2 separate regions of the Homo sapiens genome follow, and region 2 is linked to region 1. The links are contacts of gene promoters, found by promoter capture Hi-C in blood cells and fetal thymus (Javierre and others, 2016). All regions are on one chromosome and are shown on one strand. Each heading gives the region's core, a stretch centred on a gene start or on the middle of the fragment in contact. The rest is flanking DNA. Distances are from core to core; before and after follow the strand shown. Region 1 holds the start of ZBTB6 (zinc finger and BTB domain containing 6). Region 2 overlaps RABGAP1 (RAB GTPase activating protein 1).

The links. The method cuts DNA at HindIII sites, captures the fragments that hold promoters and counts their contacts. A CHiCAGO score of 5 or more calls a contact.
Region 2: a contact is called between a fragment that was not itself captured here and the fragment with the promoter of ZBTB6 in region 1, in 1 of 17 cell types (megakaryocytes). The highest score is 6.9, in megakaryocytes.

The regions. Positions count from the first base shown.
Region 1 is chr9:122,910,891-122,917,121 of GRCh38, forward strand. ZBTB6 (zinc finger and BTB domain containing 6) reads right to left here and starts at 2,433. Exons shown (of 2, transcript NM_006626.6): 1 at 2,361-2,433; 2 at 1-1,191. The coding sequence starts at 1,182. It overlaps ZBTB26 (zinc finger and BTB domain containing 26), which reads right to left. Exons shown (of 2, transcript NM_020924.4): 2 at 4,676-6,231. RefSeq lists enhancers at 2,148-2,257, 2,268-2,497, 3,966-4,723. The HindIII fragment of the contact is 12,849 bases long and covers 817-6,231 here.
Region 2 is chr9:123,059,794-123,066,024 of GRCh38, forward strand. It overlaps RABGAP1 (RAB GTPase activating protein 1), which reads left to right. Exons shown (of 26, transcript NM_012197.4): 14 at 5,555-5,668. It also overlaps the pseudogene LOC100422501. Among named protein-coding and RNA genes, the nearest start is that of GPR21, 29 kb to the left of the region's middle. The HindIII fragment of the contact is 1,062 bases long and covers 2,500-3,561 here.

The DNA.
Region 1 (6,231 bases), core at 1,183-3,682:
CTTGTGCTTGAAATCCATATCACAACAGTGGCATTTGTATGGCCGATCCCCACTGTGTATGTTCAAGTGGTCCTGAAGTGTGCTTTTGGCAGTAAATGTCTTCAAGCACACAGTACACTGAAAGGGCCGTATGCCCATGTGTCCTCGGATGTGTCGGTTGAGATTTTTCTTCTGTGTAAATGTTTTTCCGCACTGTAAGCATAAGAATAGTTTATGCATTTTAAGGTGGCGCAGATAGTTTTCAACATGAAGAAAGCCTCGAGGACACCTGGGGCACTGGTGCCTCAGTGAATAACCTTCCTCCAGATTCTGAATCTCACTCACTGTACCATAACTTCCTTCAGTATTCTCACAAAATAAGCCCTGATCTTGATTCCCAGGAACTTCAGCCACTCTGCTCTCAACTGTAGAATTGATCAATGAATGCTGTGTTTCAGAGAAATACATGCTTGCTTTTGAAGAGGTACAAGGCTGTGAAAACTGCCCATTTTCGACACCAGCTGTACTGATGGATTCTACATGAAGGATACAAATTTCATTGTCTTTAAAACCTATGTCTACTGTAGACAGCTCTGGTGACTTCATTTCCTTTCTCTCTGATGTCAGACTCTCTACTGTAGACTGCAAAGCATTGCTTTCCTCTTCTTTAACATGGAAATCTATGTTTACAGGACTATCTTCTGAAATTTCAATTATCTCACAGTCTTTATCAGAATTTTCATCTTCATTCTTAACATCAGGATCAGAAGACTGACACAGGTCAGTGTGTTGGTTGTTGTTTTTCATAGAAAGATCAATTTCCAGATACTTTGACAAAGCTTCTGTGCACTTTTCCACAATGTGAACCATCTGAAGGTAACTGGCAGCAGTCAAGTATTTCAAAAGCTCTTTCCTTTTAACTTCAAGTGCTCCAGTATAGCAAGACAGTAACAATTTTCTGCCAACTTCTGCACTCTGTAAGATGGTGATTCTGACATGTTTTGACTGTGTGAGTAAAAACTGATCTCTCATAAAAGTGGAGCAAGCAGCCAAAATCACCTTGTGCCCCTGGAACTCAGTGTCATTAATGTAAATTGATACATCACAAAATAAATTCTGCTGTCTCAAAAGATTCATTTTCTGCAAGACCACATCTCCTTGCTGTTCAAACTGGAAATGCAGAACATCAGACTCAGCAGCCATGATCACAATCTAAGCAAAATAAAACACAAACATTGATGTAATAAGGATAGGGAATGCTTTCCCATGCTGTAATGGTGAAAACAAACGAAAAACCCCAAACCTGAATTAGGAAGAAGAAGACTCAAAGTCTAATGTAGGTGTTATGAACCTTTATGCCACCATCTCAAAACGAGAACTTTATAATGCACTTCTCTATGATCTCATAGCACATTTTTCATAACTTTGTTACAACATTCATTACAATGAATTGTAGTGAACAGTTTCTAGCTTGTTTCTTTTGCTAAATGTTGTGTGCCTTGTGGTCAAGAACAATCTATCAATTTTGAATATCCAATATAAGCACTGTGACCACCAAAAAGTTGATTTAACATAATATATCCAATTAGCAACTTTAACGTAATCTCCAAACTTCCTACTCCCCACCACTACAACAGGTCCTCCTTCCGGTTCACCTGGACAACTGCAATGTCTTCCAACAGGTCTTCTTTATACCACACTCTTCTGTATGCCAGATTACCCGCCTGAGTGCCACCAGGATTAACAACCCTTATTTTATTTTATTTTTAATTTCCCTTTTCTGCTTTAAATCTTCTATCGTTCTTCTCTACCTCCGGGACAGTCCAGATTTCTTAGGAAAGAATACGAGACCCATCACGATTTGGCTCTAACCCATCTTTATGGCTTTATCACCTTCTATTCTCTTTTTCATACTCGAACCTCGTTCAATACTAAATTTTTCCATCATTACCCAGACAAAAAGACACGAATACACATTTCTTACATTCGCGTTTCCAGTTCCTTTTTTCAGCTAGTGATTAGGCTCCTTTAAGCCCAAATCAAGTAAAACTAATATGACTCCACCTCCCGTTTCAACCAGAGAGAGTCAGCTGCTCTCTGAGCACCGCGAGATGGTGCCTGATGCATCTGTGTTCCTGCACCGAGCTCAGGGGCCCACACAGAGCAGGAGGAGCTCAGGGAACATCTGCTGAACTGAAACCGGATGCCAGGTTCAGCACACAGGTATTCTGGAGGCAACCCTGCGAAGGGCCAAGGCCCTGTCGGCCCAGTGGTTGCAGCACAAGATTAGCCACTCCGGGGCCGAGCCCAGCTGTCCTCCTCCTCCTCCTCCTCTTCCTCAGGCACCCTCCACCTGAGGAATCTACTTTGCACTCACTCACCGACTCAGAAAACTAGAGTCAAGGATTCCGCGGCAGCGTCTGCCCAAGCCGGAAGATGGACTTAGCCTGGAAGAAAACACATCCGGTGCCAACCAGCTTTATTCTTTACTGGGGCCCTCTAGGCGCCCCGGAAGGACATTCTGAGACGGTCTTCCTTCCTCACTTCCCCCCTCTTGGAATGACAGAAAGGCTCCTGAATGCCGGCAAGCCCCATCTCTCTTGTCCCAGTTTCGGCACTCGAGCCGTTTTCCCCCACCATCCCTTTTTTTTTTTAAGACGGAGTTTCGCTCTTGTTGCCCAGGCTGGAGTGCAATGGCGCGATTTCGGCTCACTGCAACCTTCGCCTCCCGGGTTCAAGCGACTCTCGCTCCGCAGCCTCCCAAGTAGCTGAGATTACAGGCGCCCGCCACCACGCCCGGCTCATTTTTGTATTTTTAGTAGAGACGGGGTTTCACCATGTTGGCTAGGCTGGTATCGAACTCCTGACCTCAGGAGATCCGCCCGCCTCGGCCTCCCTAAATGCTGGGATTACCGGGTTGAGCCACCGCGCCCAGCCGAGCCATTTCCTTTTGTGAGTCCTCCTGAACATCCGAATTGGAGACGGGGTTTGAGGTTCGGTTACGGCACGTCTGTCAGAGTAACCAGACCTTTTATGGATTATTCTGGGACGATTCCTCTCCTTATTGGGGCCACCTACAACTTGAAAGGTGGCAGAGCAGAAACTATCATAAAGATCCGTATTCGAGATTGCCTAGATAATGCCCCATCAGGAGATGGCCCCAACCTCTGGATCTAGCTTCACACTTAAATGCGTTCCTCCATCCCAAAACTTTTGGCCCAGCTGTTTCCTCTGACGTGCCCTAGCCTTTTCCCCAGGCTTTTTTTTTTTTTTTTTGAGACGGAGTCTCTCTCTGTCGCCCAGGCTGGAGTGCAGCGGCAGGATCTCGGCTCACTGCAAGCTCCGCCTCCTGGGTTCACGCCATTCTCCTGCCTCAGCCTCCCGAGTAAGCTGGGACTTCAGGTGCCCGCCACTTCGCCTGGCTAATTTTTTTTTTTTTGTATTTTTAGTAGAGACGGGGTTTCACCGTGTTAGCCAGGATGGTCTCGATCTCCTGACCTCGTGATCCGCCCGCCTTGGCCTCCCAAAGTGCTGGGATTACAGGCGTGAGCCACCGAGCCCGGCCTTCCCCAACGTATCTTTAAAGAACCCGTTTATAAATCTCATCATCCTGAAGCCATCCTGAACTGCCCTAAGATAATTGGTTCCCAGTTTGAAACCTGTAATCCCTTTTCCTGCCTTCATTATTGCACTTAACACGCCTGTATTAATTTGTGCCTCATCTAGGCAGAGTTATTTAGGACAGTGGCTTACTGATCTTTGTATTCTCGAAGTCTAGCACTTGGTAGGCATCAAGTATTTGTGCTGAATGAAGATATGACTGAAGAAATTCTTTTTCTTTTTTTTTTGAGACAGAGTCTCACTCTGTGGTCCAGGCTGGAGTGCAGTGGCACGATCTCGGCCTACCGCAACCTCCGCCTAGCAGGTTCAAGCAATTCTCCTGCCTCAGCCTCCCGAGTAGCTGGGATTACAGGTGCCTGCCACCACACCCAGCTACTTTTTGTATTTTTGGTAGAGACGGGGTTTCACCATGTTGGCCAGGCCGGTCTCGAACTCCTGACCTCAGGTGATCCACCCGCCTTGGCCTCCCAAAGTGCTGGGATTACAGGCATGAGCCGCCGCGCCCGGCCTCTGCACCAATTCTATTCCTTTTTTTTTTTTTTTTTTTTTTTTTTTGAGACAAAGTCTCGCTCTGTCGCCCAGACTGGAGTGCAGTGGTGCGATCTTGGCTCACTGCAAGCTCCGCCTCTCGGGTTCACGCCATTCTCCTGCCTCAGCCTCCCGAGTAGCTGGGACTAATGCCCTGCCACCAGGCCCGGCTAATTTTTTGTATTTTTAGTAGAGACGGGGTTTCACCGTGTTAGCCAGGATGGTCTCGATCTCCTGACCTTGTGATCCACCCGCCTCGGCCTCCCAAAGTGCTGGGATTACAGGCGTGAGCCACCGCGCCCGGCCGCCTCTGAACCAATTCTTAAAGGCAGTTGCTCTGCTCCTCCAGCAACAGGTTCTCGTGGAAGTAAATGAATCTAGTAACAACTTTCTGATTAATTCGTATTTTTTTCTGAAGGCAAGCTCAGCATGCTTAATATGTATTTTTAAGACTATACATAAAGAAGACCTTCCTGTATTCAAAGTAAAGCAATTAAAAAAGAATAGAAGGAGGGGAGAGTGAGAAAATAACCAATGACACCAGAGCTTTAATCGTCACACTTTTATTAAGGAAACTTCCCCATAATAAGTGAAGAGGTAGTTCATAGTATGTCTAACATACAACAGATTTAGAACAGCTATTCATGAGCTGAAATAAAATCTTCTGGGTTGTTTAGGACAGTATTTTAGAAGCAGTGACATTGGTCACCTTCCATTTATAGATCTGCTAATAAAGAAACTTAAATTAAAATCATATCTGATTTACCTCAGAGCCACTTCAGTTTGGAGTTTAGTATTAAATAATAAATAAATAACTGACAGAGTAATTTTTTTTTAAACCAAACTATGGTAGAGAGTCATCTCCTTTTTAGTTCTCCTGGGGATCCATAAAATACAAATGCTGAATGATAAAGGTTTTAAAAATCTTCCTCCTCTACAGAAATATGACTAGTTTTGAAAGTCATCTTCCTCTGTAAAATACTGGATATCAGTAACTTGACTTCTTTGCAATATAATCTAACAAACACGTATAAGCAAAGAAGGAGGAAAGTGAAGTTCCACAAAAATTAGAAAAATGTCTCACAGAAACAGAACACCTCTCCAGCCAAAAATGGAGGAGACTGTAAATCACTTCAGTGGTTTGCATTTTCAAAAGGTGAGAACTAAATGTTTTACTGATACAAAAGCACAAAGTTGCTGATTTTAACTGATCGAATACAGCAAGGCAGCTTTCTTTATTATTTCTAGTATAAAAGCAAATTGAGACTTTGTTTCACTAAGACCACATGAGACTATAAGCTCCATGAGGGCAGGGACTATATCAATCTTACCTTCATTATCCTCAGTATCTAGCATAGTGTCTAGCAACAGTAGGTGCTTAACTAATGTTTCTTGAACAACTGAATGAACCCAGAAATAGTCTCCAACCAAAGAGACCAATCTTATTTGAACCCGTGCCTTTTAGTCTTCAAACCAGTAACAAAAACAAGACATGAATGTGAGCAAACGAAGCACTCCAACTTGAAATTTCCCTGTGAAGAAATGATGTTGACAGAAAATACCAAAAAATGCTGTTTGGTTGACAGGGTAGAGTCTCACTATTGCATAGAATTGGTACTCTTTGGCTGGATCATGTAAAAATCACAATGCTAGGAAGCATCATTAGACCATATAATGAGTGATGTTAGGCATAAGGTACCTATTAGTCTTACCACTCAACTGTATTATCATTTTAAATATTTGAACAAAAGACAAAAATCATACTTCACATCTGACTCACATGATGATAATTTACATATGATAACAATGATACATGTAAACGTATCAAATATAACAATTGAAGATCCCCTCTGACTATGCAAGCCTAATTTTTCAAATCTGCATGCACTCTCATAGCTCAAAAATAAAAACAGAAAATCCTGATGGAAACTAATAAACAGTTTTCCACACAAAATCAACTTCGCATTTAGATTCTTCTCACATTATTCTTGCTTTTTCCCTCCCTAAACAAACCTAGCAAATCACTCACTTGGATGGGAAGAATATAATATTCATCTAACTAAAAAATAATTAATATAAATCCCTCTGCGATATTTTGTTGGC
Region 2 (6,231 bases), core at 1,781-4,280, 150 kb after region 1:
CTTGATCTTGGAATTTCCAGCCTCCCAGACTGTAAAAACAATTCCTGTTGTTTATAAGCCACCCAGTTTGTAATATTTTGTTAGAGTAGCCCAAAGCGACTAAGACAATCATTTAGGCTGTTATATTAGTCTTGGTAAGATGAAGCATGGGTCTGCCTTTGGGTGATGCACTAGAAGTGGAAAGGAAGAGACAGAATCCAGACTCTGCAGAAAGATCTCCAGATCAGTGATGATTCATGGTAGCTAGAATCAGAAACAAGGTGGTAAAACCTGCTGCCATTCACAAGAATAGAGAACTGTTGAGAAATGTTGGTGGAGGGAGGTGGGGAATGTGAGATTACAGTTTTTGTGAGTGTAGTATAATTTACATACAATAAACATACACCTTATGTGTTCATTTTGATGAGTTTTGACAATTTCTTATATTTGTGTAAACACCAAAGAAAATATAAACATTTCTGTCATCTCAGAAAGTTCCCTTATGCCCCTTTTCAGTTGATTTCCCTCCCACCCCCAGGTAACCATTTCGGTTTCTGTCACCATGGGCTTTTGCTCAACATAATGTTTTTGAGATTTATTTGTGTTGTTTCATGTATTAGAGGTTCATTTGTATTGCTGGGTAGTATTCCATTAGATGGATATACCATAATTTATCACTTTTTCTGTAGATGGACATTTGAGGTTTCTAGTTGGGCTATTACACATGAGGGTATTAGGAATGGAATTGCTGGGTCATGGTAGTTAGGTATATATTTAACTTTCTGGGAAACTGCCATGTTCTTTACCAAAGTGGTTATATCATTTACACACCCATTAGCAACCATTGAGAGTTCCAGTAATTTCATATTCTCACCAACATTTGGTATTTTTATTTTAGCCAGTCTCATGTGTGTCAGTTTGTGTTTATAATTTGTGAGCTGTATATACTGTTTATTTTGCTGCTTGAAATGTCAGGGACTATATACCACTACAATTACAGGGTTTTATTGAAACGTGTACTACACTGCATAGACAGGAATATACAGACTTTTGCAAAATGCAGCAAACATTTTTAACATTTGTTATTATGTGAAAAAAGTACAAAAGTGTTCAAAGAGATATACATTTCAAGTTGTAGCAGGTTGTGACAAAGTTTCTGAGGGCAAAGCATGTATAAAATTAATAACATGTTAGTATATTTAAAATCATAACAAAAATCTTCTCTCTGGTCATGCTGACCATAACAAATTACTGTGTTGTAGTATACTTATAACAAGGGTTAACAAACTACCACCTCAGGGCCAGGTTCAGTTTGCCTCTCACTTTTGTTTATTCATTTTTGTTGTTGTTGTTATTGTTGTATAAGACAGGCTCTCTCTCTTACTGCCCAGGCTGGAGCACAGTGGCACAGTCTTGGCTCACTGCAACCTCTACCTCCTGGGCTCAAGGGATCCTCTTGCTTCAGCCTCCCGAATAGCTAAGACAGGTGTATGCCAGCACGCCCGGCTAATTTTTGTATTTTTGTAGAGATGAGATTTTGCCATGTTGCCCAGGCTGGTCTCAATCTCCTGGGCTCAAGTGGTTTACTCGCCTCGGCCTCCCAAAGTGCTAGGATTACAGGCATGAGCTACTGCGCCTGGCATGCGCTTGCTTTTATAAATAAAGTTTTGTTAGGACACAGCAGTGCTTGTTTATTTACATATTGTCTATGGCTGCTCTACAAGGGAAGAGTTGAATAACTGCAGCACTGAATGGCTTGCAAAGCCAAAAATTTTTACCTGACCCTTTATAGAAGAAGTTTGCAAGATGGCAATAGTGCATAATCCTATTGCATTTTTGTTTTCTTCTGGAAATTAAGGGTGTTTTTCTTGGGATAAATGAATTAGCCAAAACACAAAACCAGTTGATCAAACAAAACAAAACAAAACAAAACAACCCACCTCTCTTATAACAGCAGTAATTTTCAGAACGTAACAACTGACAATACTTTTGCCATTCATTCCGTGTTCTTTTAAAGTCACCATCTGTGCACTGTTGCCGTAAGTACATTTATAAAAACTTGTCTGTTAAGCCATTATACTAACTACAGCCTCCTTAAGAGGATGTATTTGGTTGACTTGATCAGTTTGGCCACGAATAGTGTTACATGTGTTGCATTGGCAGGCTCTCTACATCAGTTACATTTATGTTTAACTCCTTAGAAATAAAAGGAATATGGCCGGGTGTGGTAGCTTACAGCTGTAATCCCAACACTTTGGGAGGTCAAGGCGTGCGCATCACCTGAGGTCAGTTGAAAACCAGCCTGACCAACGTGGAGAAAACCCGTCTCTACTAAAAATACAAAAATTAGCCAGGCGTGGTGGCACATGCCTGTAATCCCAGCTACTTGGGAGGCTGAGGCAGGAGAATCGCTTGAATCAGGGAGGCGGAGGTTGCGGTGAGCCAAGATTGCTCCATTGTACTCCAGCCTGGGCGACAAGAGCGAAACAAGAAAGAAAAGGAATATATATTGTTGTATAAAGCTTAATTTTGTAAGCACTTGCTTTGACTATTTTGAAAAGCTCTTTGCTTTTTTTCTCTTAGGGGATCATCCATAATGTTGCTGTGTTTTATTTTCAGAACCTTTTCAAATTTAATGTCATTCTGATAGGAACTTACTAAACTCATCATTATTAGAATTTCTGCATCACTTTTGCATGATGTGGCCTCCAGCAAGTCAAATGAATTTATTCCAAGTTCTTCAGCATATTTCCTTAAGGCCAAATATTTTAAGCAAATGATTCACATGGAACTCCTCAATTTATTATCATTCTTGAAGGCATCAAAAATTGAGTGTGAATTTTCAAAATGACCTTCTTTTAAGGGCATTTTGCCCCTTCATTCTCTGATAATTCCATGATTAATGGATATGGGATGGCAAATTGACAAGAACTGGCCCAGTTATAGAGAGTACTTTCAGTTTTTTGTTATTTTTTACGTCCTGTGTACAGTTGAATTTCTAAATCTCGTCTCCTCTCTCTCTCTTTTTTTTAATTGAGACAGGTCTCGCTGTGTCGCCCAGGCTGGAGTGCAGTGCCACGATGTTGGCTCACTATAGCCTCTGCTTCACTGGCTCAAGCGATTCTCATGCCTCAGCCTTCCAAGTAGCTGGGATTACAGGCACCTGCCACCATGCCTGGCTAATTTTTGTATTTGTAGTCAGAGACAGGGTTTCACCATGTTGCCAGGCTGGTCTCAAACTCCTGGCCTCAAGTGACCCACCTGTCTCAGCCTCTGAAAGTGCTGGGATTACAGGCATAAGCTACCATGCCCAGCCCAAATCTCATATCTCTAATAACTGTATCCTTTTTCAGGTTGTCATCTCCGTAATCAGTGTGATATGATTGATGTAACTGGTGTAAAATATTTTGAACGTTTCCATATTCCTCTCCATTCTCAATTTAATTTCCTAACCTTCGTAGTTGTCTTAAACCACAGTTTATCATTCTTAGCATTTTTTAGAGCTTCTGTTGTTGTTTTATAGAATTCCTAAATTCATCTGATTCTCTCTGGATTGTTTCCAGTTTTGGCTGTTAGGAATAAAGCTTCTGTAAACATTTGAGTTTAAGTCTTTTCATGCATTTATATGTTCAGTTCTCTTTGGTAAATACCTAGGAATGGAATCACTGGGTTGTATGGTAATTATGTGTTTACTATTGTAAGAAACCACCAAACTGTTTACAAAGTGTTTGTACCATTTTGCATTGTATAGGAGTTCCAGTTGTTTCTTATCCTTTGCCAACACTTCTTAATTTTAGCATTTTGTAGATATGTAGTGGAATCTCATTGTGGTTTTAATTTGCACTGCCCTGAGGGCTAGTAATGTTGACATCTTTTCAAGTGCTTATTTGCCATGTGTTATATCTTCCTTAATGAAACACCTCAATCATTTACACATTCCCACTTTAAAAAATTAATTGTCTTTCTCATTAATTTGGAGAGTTATATATTCTGGATACAACTCCAACTTTATTATCAGATATGTTTTGTAGGCATTGTGTCCTGGCCTGTGACTTACCTTTTCATATTTTAAACAGTTTTTTGAATAGTAAGATTTTTAAATTTTGATGAAGTGTCCAGCTTGTCGTTTATTTATAATTCATATCTCATAGCGACCCCTCTTCTAACTCTTCAGCTCTCTGTTCAGCATATTCCTCACTAGCACTCTACCCTACAATTCTAGCTACCTTGCCCGCCCCAAAATTTGTGTGCGTGCTCTCTCACTCGCTCTCACTCTCACTCTCGCTCACTTCGCTCGCTCTCTCATTTTCTCACTCTCGCTTGCTCTCCCTCTCTCTCCCACTTTCTCAACTTTTGAAGATACCTCCAACGCGGAGCTCTAATTCAGTCTGGAAGCTGCCACCATGTAATTAGCTGCTGTAGTCATAGATCTCCCTTGGATTTTTTCCTTTTGTTGAAGAGCACCACAGTCCTGAGCTGCCATTAACTGTTAAGACTATGTTAATAACTAGAAGTAACATATGCCACTAAAGCTCTTTGAAAAGCAATTTGGCGACATCCTTGAAGGTATAAATAGTTTACTGTTTAAGAAGGAGCATAGGCTTTAAAGTTAGTTCAGATCCCACAACTATAAAATATTCATGGCCTTCGGAACATGATTACCCAAAAGGCTAGAGAAATTATTGGACAAGAGAAGAACATCACTTGCATTTTTCATCTTAAAACAGAGGTATCATGTTCTTTGGTAGTATACTGATTATGATGTATTCTTACCAAGGGGAATCAACTCTATTGTCTTAGCTATGAAGACACTGCATTGTTAAAGTAGAAGGTCATATTTCTGTGTTCCAGTTCTTTACTGTGTCAGCAAATGAAATTTAACAAGGGGAGAATATTAGAAATAACTGGGTGCTTGGTGTATTTTACAAAGGTTTGTTGACATTATTGACATTTGTTCCGTTTTAGTTAACTCATTATAGAAGAGGAAACAGTTTTTGTCCATTGGAAAAAGCAAAGGATATTTTCCCATAGCCTGTTTGAATCCCTTGGCATTTGGTGGTCTTGTTCATACTGAGTAGATTGCTTTGTGCATTCTTATGCCATTTGCCTCTAGGACAAATCCCAATTAAGTAACTACTCTTTTCCATTTGAAAACTGGCATATGGGCTTCATTCCAAAGCATCAATTAAAGCAGCAGTTTTTCTACTGGGAGCACTTTACCTCCTCCTTTTGCGATTAGTTTGAGTATTTTCCTATAGGAAATCCATTCTTAATAGCACATTTTCCATCTTACAATAGAAGGGTCACCAGCTGCAGTTCTTTGCAGTAAGGATGGAGTATAATATGGAAGTGTATAGAGTGAAATGGGTTGCTTTTCTTCCATCTTTTTTCCCCCTTTACATTTGCTTTTGCTTGAGTGGTTGGTCCCTGAAGAGGCAGTAACTATGGGCATACATATGTGTATGTATGTCCCTGCAACATTTAAAGTGTGTAAATGAGAAGACCTTGCCTAAACCTGAATAAGAGTTTACATGATTAACCTAACTAAACCCTCTCTTTCCTTATGTTTCCACAGGAGTCTCCCCAGGACAGTGCTATCACCCGGGATATTAACCGAACATTCCCAGCCCATGACTACTTTAAGGACACAGGAGGAGATGGACAAGATTCCTTATATAAAATATGCAAGGTATTTCATGTCAAAAAAAAAAAGGACTCAATTCTGAGTGGTGGTTCTACTTTGAAATTACATAAGAAACAACTACAAAGTGTAATTTGTATTTGATGTTCAAGAATTCCAAAAAGAGAAAAGACATTGCAAAGTCAAAGGTGAGAACACAATTTTAGATTCATTAAAGAGTAGAAAATAATAAGAAATAAAATGGTAGGGTTTCCTTTCCCCTTCTAATCAGGATTTTTAGATGACAGTTCCCTGGCTCCACATTTAGACTTTCAAAATTTGTTTTTATGTTAAGAACCTCTGAGCCCTGTGACACTGCAGACTCCTTTTCAGTATTCACTTTATAAGTGATGAACTTGGCACCTACGGTACGGTCTCACAGTGGGAAGTGTCATTGCCCATCCAGGTGTACTTATAGCACTGCAGCATAGTAAATGATGGAAGATTCTGATTTCTCTCAAAAGGTCTGTACCCGAACACTAAAGGAAGTAATAGCCTGTTCAATTTCCGTATTCCATTTTCAAATAGATTTGGCACATTAGAGCTATTGGGTTATAAAAGGAGGAGATAGG